Regions from separate parts of the Homo sapiens genome. Here regions 1, 3 and 4 are each linked to region 2. The links are contacts of gene promoters, found by promoter capture Hi-C in blood cells and fetal thymus (Javierre and others, 2016). All regions are on one chromosome and are shown on one strand. The core of a region is centred on a gene start or on the middle of the fragment in contact, and the rest is flanking DNA. Distances in the headings are between cores, read along the strand shown. Region 1 has its middle 12 kb from the start of GNLY. Region 2 holds the start of KDM3A (lysine demethylase 3A). Region 3 overlaps ST3GAL5 (ST3 beta-galactoside alpha-2,3-sialyltransferase 5). Region 4 holds the start of RNF181 (ring finger protein 181).

Region 1 (2,876 bases), core at 1-2,500, 740 kb before region 2:
GGCTCACTGCAACCTCTGCTTCCTGGGTTCAAGCAATTCTCCTGCCTCAGCCTCCCGAGTAGCTGAGATTACAGGCGCGTACCACCAAGCCTAATTTTTGTATTTTTAGTAGAGATGGGGTTTTGCCATGTTGGCCAGGCTGGTCTCGAACTCCTGACCTCAGGTGATCTGACTGCCTCGACCTCCCAGTGTGCTGGGATTACAAGTGTGAGGCACCGTGCCCCACTAGTTATTGTACTTTTCAACTCCAGAATTTCCATTTGGTTCTTTTTAAGAATAATTCTATCTCTGTATTAATATTTCTATTTGATGAGACATTATCATCATATCTTTCTTTACTTCTTCAATCACAGTTTTCTTTAGTTATTTCTGAACATATTTATAATGGTTGCTAGGAAATCTTTGTTAAATCTGATATCTGGTTGCTTTCACAGGCAGTTTCTGTTCCTGTTTTTTTTTTGTGTGTGTGTGTATGGATCACTCTTTTATTTCTTTTTATAGCTCTTAAGTTTCTCTGGGAAACTGGGCTTTTTAGACAATATATTGTCACATATCTGGCTACCGGTCATCCCCCTGCCCCTACCCAAGCTTGATACTGTTATTTACTTGTTTTGTTGTTTGGTGACTGGTTGGATTATTTTAGTGAATTCCCCCACCTGCCACAGTGTGAAGCCTCTGATGTTGCACCTTAAGGAGCGTTGCCTTGAGTGTACCCACAGTCATCCTGTAATGACAGTGGTTTTGGCGGGGCTCTCTTATCTATTTCTTTCTCTGACCACAGCTATCCGTTAAACTACGCTAATTCCTGGCTGATTGCTCTGTTGTTTTCAACAATGCCTTTTATGGAAAAACAAACCATGTTTTTCCTCTGCTCTTACACCAACACAACAACAATCAACACAGAAGACTTCTCTGACTCCTAAATACGTGGCTGTTTCTCCCCACCAGCAAGCAAGCAGTCAGTTCCGCAGTGGACACCAGCTAGGTGTCCTCCAACTCAATTCTGACGCTATTTATCTGGAGACAGTGTCAGATCCCACAGGTTGGGGGCTCAGTCCCCATAATTGCCTTGGCAGATTTGGGATTTGAATCCAGGCAGTCTTAGCTGTGAACCACCACACAAATCCACCTTTCTCCAAAGAATGGAGGCCTGAGCTCCCTTGTAACTTGGGGTAAATAATCTGGGCACATATCCTTGAGGAATAGCAGGACCAGAATGCTCTGCACAGGACTGGAAATGGCTGGGGGGAGGAAAACCAAGTCCCTGACAGTGTTGACCATTTCCTTCATCCTGTGAGGCAATGGGCTTGACCCTGCAATGTTCCCAGCACAAGTCTGAGGAGTGATGCAATAGAGAGTGGGTGAGTTGAGTAACCACTTGAAATTCCACTCCTCTCTTCCCTTTTCATAACAGGTGTCCTAACTTTCTGCCAAGCACACTCAGGTTTTCCATGTTCTGCTTAGAAGTTACCAACTGGCTGTTGGTTAGGCCTAGCAAATTATGTAGACTTCTTTTCGGCTAAGAATCATAGCAAGTTTATTCCCTCAGGGTAGGAAGGTCATATTTTTTCTTTAGGCTCCACCTTGGTCTTCCCTCGGAAGGGGAAATAGGAATTCTTTCTTCCTCAGGATGAGCTCGTATAAGGCCAGGCTCATTGATGATAAGAAGCAGAAATGGACTCAGCCTAAATTAAGACAAGGGAAGTGACAGGGCGGCCATGGCTGCCACAGGATGGAAGGGAAGGACTAGAACAGAGCTTAAACAGACAGGGGCCAGGCAGCTCAGATGGTTTTGGAAGCAGGGACGGTTCCACAGTCTTGCCTAGGTGCCATTACTGGGATGAATGAGCTTCCACCACTCCTTCTGTCCTTGTGTTTCTTACTCCATAGTCACATTCCTAGGAAAGCAAGTCCAAGCTTAGTTCTCATGCCTGCCTTTGGTTGCTGTAAGATGGCGAGAGGAAAGTCAGGCAGCGGCAGGGCACCTGGAAGACCCTTTTGTCTTAGGAATGGGATGGCGGATGCTGGGTTTACTCTCCACCAAGACTGTACAAAGTAGGTGCCAGATAATTCTCCAAAAGAAGATAGGCAGAGGAATAGGCAGTGCCAAATTCCCAGCACAGCTTGTGCTGGCAGGTGGGTACTGTCACTGTGGTACTTCCAAATAGGAAGAGATGTCTCTGACAGAATCAGGAACTGGATGGAGATTTACCCGTAGAAAAATGGTGACCTAAGTGAGATATGCTTTCCCCTTGCTCAGGCCGAAAACCCTGGGGTTCTTGCAACAGACTTCCAGCACGCCCCCCGTGGGTGCCTCTTGCCCTCTCCTGCCACTCATGGGAGCAGGACTGGTAGTATGAGGACACTAACAGGGGAAGTGACTGCCGTCATCTTGATTTCCTGTGTCTGAGCCTCTTATTCTGTGGTTAGATGGACACAAGGTCCCACAGTGGGGCCCCATTGCCCCCCTCTCACCCCCCTTTTTAGCCATGTTGAGTGGGTCTCTGTTTCTTGCTTCAAATGGAGCCTCTTGCTTCTCCAGCCCCAGATAGAGAGCCTGCACGCATGACTTTGTGCGTCTTTGTAAGCCCCACCAGGCCCTGGGTCGGGGAGATCTGAGTGTGAAGGGGCAGAGCCCGAGAACCTGCCCAGCTCCTTGCCTGGCTTGGGACCTCAATAAGCTCTGTCCACCCTCCACCCCAGGGATGACATTCCAAGTCCTGGGGGACCTGAGACCCACCCACCAGGAGCAGGTGTCCTGCGGCCTGGACCAGGTTTGGGCAGATTTGCTTGAATTCACTGTGGGTATTTCAAAAGTGTGCTTAGGGATGGGGCATTTCTTTTCTTTTTTTAAAGTTGTGGATTATTTCTCACAT
Region 2 (2,727 bases), core at 162-2,661:
TATTCCCAACTGTCTTTTAAAACTTGTGAGTGAAATTAACCCATTTACATTTATTGTAAATACTGATGTTTGGACTTTTCACATGAAAAACATTTTTACCATATGTTCTGGTTTCTTTTGCTTATCTCGTTCCCATTTCTGCCTTCTTTCAGCTGGATAGGTTTTTTCTTCTCATTTAGCAGCCCCCTTCCTTTAAATGGTCTACAGATTATAAATCCAATTTAATTCTTGTTACTAACTTTAAAAACTTAAAATCACATTCAGAATATGTATATTGAAAATCAACATCCAGAGTTGATTTGCATCTATAATCCCTTATATGTTTCCAAACATTCTCTGATTATACGTTTCCACGCTTGTAAAATGGGAGGCATGAGTTCTTCTTAAGGATTAAATGTGATGTAATGTCAAACACTAGCCTTTATGAACATATCTTCAATTTCTTCATTCCATTTCTTTTTCATTCAATCAAAATACTTCAGGTCCAGAGCACACAATCACCTCTAAACTCCTTTGTCCTTCAAAGTCACCTTCTCTTTCATCTCTTCCATCATTCATTATGGCCTTCAACTACTTTAAATTTCTTTGTAAGTATCTGAATACCTTCTCAATCCCACTTTGGAGAAAAAAAAATCTCATTATACATTGTATTTAAAGGTCTCTTTTGCTCTAAATTTAATGAACGTCATTATCCAGTAACTCCACGCCTTTCTTCATTTATCCTTCAAAATGGCGGACTTTAGACGTTCCACGATCAGTACCACGTGCGCCTGCGCCTCCCGCAGCCATTTCGCCCAGCAGCCTAAGCTCGGCGAGGCGCCTGCGCACGAGCCTCCAGAGCACTATCGCTCCTCCCTCTAGCTGAGTACGCCTGAAACCGCACGTTCTCTTCCCTGCCCTCCCCCGCTAACCCTGCACCGCCCTCACCCTTTCCTGTGAGATTCTTCCGCCAAGTGGAAGGCTCATCTTCGGTCGACAGCCTACGCGGTTGAAGAACAATCCAGTAGGCACTTATAGCTCAGGGTCTCGCCATTCAGTCTTATCTATGCGCCACAGCAATTTTCCTCCGGGCCCCAAAGTTGATAACCGATTTCGCGGGACTTTTTTTTTGCATACTGTGAGGCAACAAATGGAAAGAATAGGCCTATGGCGGAGGGATCACTCGCTTATTCTCTGTGTACTTTAACCTAATGGGGGTCGCCCGGGAGTCGGAAGGGGGAGGGGAAAGGGAGGAGGCAGCCAAGGAATTGTTTTTTTCTCTGGCCCCGCCCTCGCCCGGGGGGCCAATGGTGATGATCTGTTTCCCCCGGAGCCTCGCCCAGCTCCTGTGTTTCAGCCAATGAGCGGCGGAAGCGGCTCCGAGGGGGGCGGGTCCGGGAGGCTGTGCGTGTCTTGTGAGAGCTCTTGAACCAAGTCAGCGCTGGAGTCGGCTAGGCGGCTGGAAACGGCGGCTGCCGCCGGTGACTCAGGGAGGCGGGAGGCGGGGTAAGAGCGCCGCGGCCTCGGCTGCGGGGAGAGGGGAGAGAAAGGTGAAAGCGCCGAGCGCGCGGCCCCGTCGCCCGTTGGCAGCGGCGCAGGCCCGGGAGACGGGCGCCCGGGGTTCGGGGCCGGGGAGCTGGGCGCCGGGGCGGGGCGGCGGGGCAAGTGCGGAATCGCGGGCTCGCCCACCCTCCCCCGTGGGGCCGCCCGGGGCGGGGACCCAGCCGCCCGGGACCGGCTCTCTGCACCAGGGGCCTTTTCTTTTCGGGGCTGGGGGCTGAGCACTTTCAAATCCACTCGAGCCGCAGATAATTTTTCCCTCACTCCCTCTGCGGTTGCGTTTGAGCTGTTAGAAAAGCCAAACTTGGGAGAGCGAGGGTCACGCGGCGCTGGGGCCCGGGTGTGTGGCGGGGGAGGGCGGCGGGGGGCGGGAGGGCGCAGGAGGGGGGCTCGGTGCGGGTCCGCCCGGGGCCGCGTCCTCGCGCGGGTTCGGCGCCCTCCGCCCGCCCTCCCTGCTGTCTCCGCCCGGCCCCCTCCCACCGGCCGCCCCCGTCGCATTTTGTTTTTGTGTTTTTGCAGGGAGGAGCTCTTCCTGCAGGCGTGGAAACCATGGTGCTCACGCTCGGAGAAAGTTGGCCGGTATTGGTGGGGAGGAGGTTTCTCAGTCTGTCCGCAGCCGACGGCAGCGATGGCAGCCACGACAGCTGGGACGTGGAGCGCGTCGCCGAGTGGCCCTGGCTCTCCGGGACCATTCGAGCTGTTTCCCACACCGACGTTACCAAGAAGGATCTGAAGGTACAGGCGGCTCCGGGCCTCTGCCACCGGACGTTTCGCAGTTACCGTGGTAACGCGACCATCGGTTCCCTCCTTCCGTTTTCTGAAAACGGAGACCAGAAAGTTGGCATATGATCTGAAGGTGCAGGAAGCTAGATCTTGAAAGTCTTTGGAATGGTTGTATAGAGCCGAGTTGTGTTTGGCCCACAGCTCCTGGCTGCCTGGCTTTAATAATGGGCTTAGGGTTGTTCAGACACGCTTCATTAATGCCGGTGCTGTGTCCCACCAGGACTGTCTCATCTTTACTGCAGAGGAGGAGGAGTATTTTTGTTAGCGTTAGGTAGGGCCTGTAAGTGACGTTTGGAGTCATTAAGAATTGAAGGTTAGTGCTTGGAAGTACTTTCAGCTGGTTTTGTTTGTTTGTTCCTGTTAATTTATTCACTCAACTTTTAAAAAAACTTTCAGACTTGTTAA
Region 3 (2,700 bases), core at 183-2,682, 560 kb before region 2:
AGACTAAGTAAATATCCTGTTTATCATCAAATCTACTTGTTTCAGTATCCACCAGTAGATTCTTGCAGGAGAAGGATATGACTCTGTGAGGTCAAACAAATTCAAACCTCAGGAATGAAACTAGGGCTGGATAAAACAGTAGGTGATGAACAAAAATTAACATGTAAGACTCCTATCAGACTTAATTTCCCCATTTATGTTCACTCTTAGCTATTAAGAAAAAAAAATAACCTTTAGATTTTCTTTTGAGAATACAGTATATATGAGTTGGGAGTATGGTAATTTCTCTATTGGTGCTTCCATGTCTGCTAGAAACTTAGCCCTTCAATTCACAAAGTGTCCAGTGGCAGCAAGAAGAGACACCCAGGTCCAGAGAGCTAACAGCTGGAGCCATCCTCACACCAATGCCTGATTTTCCAAGGGCAACGCTGCACGGCTCAGCTTGGTGATTCCCAGCTCACTGTGGCACAATGTAGGCAGCTACATTTAAAAACAAGAACTCTACTCTCAACTGATGACCAGGTTTAGAAACTCTGATTTGCCTTACCCAAGAAATATTTTAAAAACCCTGTTAGGACACAAGTAGAAATTTCAGAAAATAATATAAGAACAGAACATTTAAAAATCACTGTTATCTTACAACCCAGTGATACCCACTGTTAACATTCTGGTCTGTATTCTGTCAGCCTCTGCTCTTTGCATAGATATACTATCATGACGGGGGTCATGCTATCTACACCAGCCTCATTCAAGGTGCATTCCACTCGGGAATGAAGTCCTACAAAAAAGAACAGATTTTTCTCAATTCTCCCAGGAATGATCTATAACTAGAATCATTCCAGAAGCAAGGAGAGAAGTTAATTCATAACATACAATGGTCGCCTGACAGTATTGGGACAAAAGTCTCTTGTAGAACCTCAGTTGAGAAGGGCTGGTCTGTATGGTTGTCTAATTTTCTTTGTTTACCTAACAATCCTTTAAATAAAAATTTCATAAGCTTCTTCCATACACCAAGCACTGGGAATATAAAAATAAATAAGACACAGCCGCTTTCCTCTTTAAATGAATAATCCAGCTAGGAAAACTGAAAATGCCCAAATACTCGAAATACCAAATAACGCTGTGATAGAGGAGCTACAGTAGACCTTGTGCATCCTGGGCAGGAAACCACAGGCTCCATCAGAGGAAATCAGGGAGGCCTCCCTGAGGAGGTTATGTATGAATGGGTCCTCGAAGAATGACTAAGACTCTGGAGACAGGACAGAGAGAGGAGGCGGCATTCCAGACAGAAGGAAGGTAATGCCAAGACACACAGAGAGAGGTGTGTGCTCGGGCCAGATTACAGGGGCCTGGGGAACAGTGGGCAGAAGACGCAGCTAGGAAGGAACCAGGCTCTCTTATGTTACACAAAGGAGGATGGCCCTAAGTGGTTCTTAAGTAGGAGAGTGGTGAGCTCATACTGGCATGAAAGAGGCCAAGGGACAGGGTAATCAAAAGACCACTGAGATCAGTGCAGTGAGGGGTGACGGAGGAGCTGAGCCACAGCCAGAAAGGCCGGAAGGTGGCCAACCAAGAGATGTGGAGGAGGAAGGTGCCACAGGACTTGGTGCCCAAGCCAGGAGGGGCTATTATTATAGCACTGGGCCAGCCAAGACCCATCCTGTGTAACAAATTCAGGTGGCTAAAGAGGGGAGTCGCAGGGGAGAAGGTATGCAAGAAGGCTTCAAATGTTACTGTTTCTCAAAATGATTTAATGGTGAAGGTAGGGGTGTCCCTCAAAGAGAAAGAGGCCAGAGGGAGCAAGACATGACACTAGGGGTAAACTGAAGAAATTGCCCCTAGAACTGCCCCTCCCCCTGGGGTCCCATCAAGCTTTTACATAATAGCTTTCCTGTGGTGGGCCTGTGTGACAGCACATTATACACGCAGAATCTGCTATGAGAGAACAACTCTGTGGCAACCCCATGAATACCCCAAATAAGGCAAAATCTAGAAGCTAAATGTTTAATGGAACATTTCCCTCTTAACCCAAAGGAAATACAAGTAGTTGGGCTGAATAAATAATACTTAACAGGAGAAAGTGAAAGTCAGCAGAACTGACAGTTAACAAAAAGCAATTCTGGGACCCAGTACCCAAAGGCTCCAACATATGGGCCTTTTACTAAACTTGAGCAGAATGGGGAACACAGGGTATCAGATGATGGGAAAGTTTGTGGGCAATTTCTAAAACAATGAAGATCCCACTGCCGCAGAAAGCATAAGGTGAAAGTTCTTAAGGTTTTGGACTATAAAAGTGATATCACCAAATAGGATCTTAGAAATATTCTTCAGGGAACAGCTGTCCAGGTGGATGGGAAGGGAAGATAGGGAATTTGCTAGGCAGTTTTTTCCAATAACCCATGGTATTCAGTAATCCTGTATGTCTTATAGGAACAGAAGAACCAGAGGAGTCATAGAAAGCCCCAAATCAGAAAATAATGACCCTAGAAAAGGAACTGGAGGGACAGTGACTGGGACAGTGACAACCCGGAGTTTGGCAGGACCTGGCAATTTAGGGTTGGAAGGAGAGGGAGGAATTGTACAGGAGACAAAAGGAGATTTTGTTTGGGCTGCTTAAAACTCAGAACAAGTTACATTTCCATTTCTAAAACCAACAACATATATTCAGGTCTAACTAAAACATATAATTTTCTTTTACAC
Region 4 (2,700 bases), core at 201-2,700, 850 kb before region 2:
CCTGGGCTCAAGCAATTCTCTTGCCTTTAGTGCTGGGATTGCAGGCGTGAGCCACCATGTCCAGCCTGAATTCAGGCTTTTCAAAGCTACAGGGCCATATAGGCCAGGGAGGCAGTGCCTTCAGGGCCATAGCAAAGATCATTGGGCAAAGGCATGGAAGAAGGAAATAAAGCCACACCAAGACTGTGGAAACAGGGCAGCCTCTGCCTGGGCTACTTAGCTGCAGTTCAAACTCAGGTGTGAGTGGCAAGGGGAATTCAGGGTCAAGTGTGTAAAATAAGCAGTTCCTTGCTGGGTAAAGTGAGCGCTACTGACAGAAACCAGAATAAGCCTGAGTTGTGTGGAGCTTCACCCCTTACAGAGCGTGTTAGTTTTACTGAGCGCATTAGCGTCTTCCTCTCTTGGGAAAGATGGAGGAAAGCACTTGGCCCTGCAGCTGGTCTGCAACACCACTTACAGACTGCAAATTTGGGCAAGCCACTTCTGAGGTAAAAAGGGCATAATGACGCTTAGCTCCTGGGTCTATTGAGGGGATGATCGAGCGTGTAAAACATACATCAGACTAACAGTTCTAGATGCTAAATAGTACCTATCATCCAAATCATTGAGTGCAGTGGTTCTTAAACCTGCTTCACCTGCATAATTTATACAAGTGCCATTGCCCAGGCCCCACCACAGATCAGTTAAATCAGAATCTTCGAAGGTATCAGACACGGGTGTTTCTAAAGCTCCTCCGCGCCCATTCTCTCCTCTGGGAATTCATGTGTAGCCAGGAATGAAAAGGTCTTAGTACAAGCCAGCAGTTTTACAGAAGCTAGGGATAGCAACGGGCTGAAGGTAACAGTCCCATGAGCTGGTTGAGGCCCCAGGTTCTCCGGCAAAGAGATCTCTCTCAGTTGGGGAGGCTTGCCCCACCCTTTATTATTATGCCTAACACATAAGAAATGCGCAGGAATCAAACGCAAACTGGTGAACCAACTAGAGGGCCGCGGGGGCAGAAGTGTCCGGCGGGGATCCGGACAGCGCATCCGGAAGCGCCATGGGCCAACGCTCGCAGGAACCTGAACCCCTGGGCCAGCGCCGCCTTTGCTCGCAGAGGCCTCTAGCATCTGTACTGTCGAAGCCCTCTGAGCTTCAGGGCAGACTGAAGAGCCTTACACACCAGACACTTGGACGCGATCGCGCCAGAAATCCCCGGGAATTCAGTCTTGGCTCCGACTCCAAAACAAATGATTCCTCACCAGCCAGATCTCCATCATTGGCGTTAGTCTCTGGTCACCTGACTTGTTCAAGCCAATGAGAGGGGGCCGAATTAGTACTTCCGCTTTCCGTGCTGTTTAACGAGCCACTATGCCCGTCCCTCGGATACTCTGATTGGCCAGCCTCTCTCAGCTCGTCAGTTTATTGGCCAGCGCCGCTAGGCCGCTATCGAGCAGGGTCCGAGGGCTGTGTCAGAAGGCTGGGCAGCCATGGCGTCCTATTTCGATGAACACGACTGCGAGCCGTCGGACCCTGAGCAGGAGACGCGAACCAACATGCTGCTGGAGCTCGCAAGGTGGGTGCGCGGGGCTTGGGGATAGGGTCCAACCAGCAGGTTTCTGGGCTGGGGCTGGCTGGAGAAGGCGGATTACCAGGGGCAGCGGATTCTGGGGAGGACAGATGAGTAATCTGGAGTGTTAGTACGGGCGGCGAGACTGAGGGGTGTGGGGATGAGCATCTCGATAATTTGGGCCGTCCGTTGGGCCGGCCTGGGGCAAGGGGATTGCGGGAAAGATTGGAGCTGGAGAGTGGTGGGCGTGGGGGCGGAAGGACAGCAGGCTCTGGGAGGTCTCAGAGAAGGTGAGGCATGGGGGCGGGGTTGGGGCCGTGTGCTGTGAGTGGGTATATTCATCAGTAACAGCAGGCACTGCTGTTACTGGACCTGGAATCTGGCTTGGTCTTGGAATCTGGGCTCTACCAGGTTATTCAGCGTAGCCTGAGTAACTTCTCTGAATCTGTTGCCTCATGTGTAAAATGGGAATAAACACTTTACGTGCTGGGGCGGTCTGATAGCAGTTGTAAACTATTTCCCATCGTGCTTTTTATCTAGTGAGCATCTACTAACTACTAAGGGTAGCTATTATTCCTACTAGCTGGGCAGCGTGTTTATTAATGTCCAGTGGATTATGGGGACAAAGAAAAAGCATAGTTTTCCTTTGTTCTGACTTTACATCCCCTTCCCCAGGTCACTTTTCAATAGGATGGACTTTGAAGACTTGGGGTTGGTAGTAGATTGGGACCACCACCTGCCTCCACCAGCTGCCAAGACTGTGGTTGAGAACCTCCCCAGGACAGTCATCAGAGGCTCTCAGGCTGGTGAGGACACTGATTCTTTCTGCTATTTGGGCCAGACCCACCCCTTCCCCAAGCCAGACTGTGGTCTGGTCCTTCAGTTTTCCAGGTCAGGTGGGGGCAAGTGTCCTTCAGGAGTGGGAGCTTGGGAGGCAGAGCCTGTAGCAGCTCTCCTGATCAGCACTCCTTCCTAAAGAGCTCAAGTGCCCCGTGTGTCTTTTGGAATTTGAGGAGGAGGAGACTGCCATTGAGATGCCTTGCCATCACCTTTTCCATTCCAGCTGCATTCTGCCCTGGCTAAGCAAGGTACTGCTTCTCTTCTTCTAGCTCTCACCGTGCCCTGGGCCCAGTACTCAAGCTTCTTTCTGT

Evidence for each region. Contacts are between HindIII fragments. The CHiCAGO score rates a contact against its expected background, and 5 or more counts as called.
Region 1: a fragment that was not itself captured here is called in contact with the fragment with the promoter of KDM3A in region 2 in 1 of 17 cell types (total B cells); the score reaches 6.1 in total B cells.
Region 3: a contact is called between a fragment that was not itself captured here and the fragment with the promoter of KDM3A in region 2, in 1 of 17 cell types (naive CD4 T cells). The highest score is 5.8, in naive CD4 T cells.
Region 4: a contact is called between the fragment with the promoter of RNF181 here and the fragment with the promoter of KDM3A in region 2, in 7 of 17 cell types (naive CD8 T cells, fetal thymus, total B cells and 4 more). The highest score is 11.7, in naive CD8 T cells.

What each region holds. Positions count from the first base shown.
Region 1 is chr2:85,704,430-85,707,305 of GRCh38, forward strand. No RefSeq gene overlaps it. Among named protein-coding and RNA genes, the nearest start is that of GNLY, 12 kb to the left of the region's middle. RefSeq lists an enhancer at 531-1,032. The HindIII fragment of the contact is 1,329 bases long and covers 587-1,915 here.
Region 2 is chr2:86,439,960-86,442,686 of GRCh38, forward strand. It overlaps KDM3A (lysine demethylase 3A), which reads left to right and starts at 1,412. Exons shown (of 26, transcript NM_018433.6): 1 at 1,412-1,485; 2 at 2,059-2,274. The coding sequence starts at 2,089. RefSeq lists enhancers at 481-1,024, 846-1,045, 1,126-1,205, 2,196-2,255 and silencers at 1,336-1,725, 1,946-1,995. The HindIII fragment of the contact is 3,261 bases long and covers 1-2,727 here.
Region 3 is chr2:85,877,661-85,880,360 of GRCh38, forward strand. All of the region lies in intron 1 of ST3GAL5 (ST3 beta-galactoside alpha-2,3-sialyltransferase 5), which reads right to left. Among named protein-coding and RNA genes, the nearest start is that of ST3GAL5, 10 kb to the right of the region's middle. The HindIII fragment of the contact is 875 bases long and covers 996-1,870 here.
Region 4 is chr2:85,594,295-85,596,994 of GRCh38, forward strand. It overlaps RNF181 (ring finger protein 181), which reads left to right and starts at 1,451. Exons shown (of 5, transcript NM_016494.4): 1 at 1,451-1,555; 2 at 2,225-2,355; 3 at 2,528-2,637. The coding sequence starts at 1,470. RefSeq lists a silencer at 1,343-1,482. The HindIII fragment of the contact is 2,864 bases long and covers 1-2,687 here.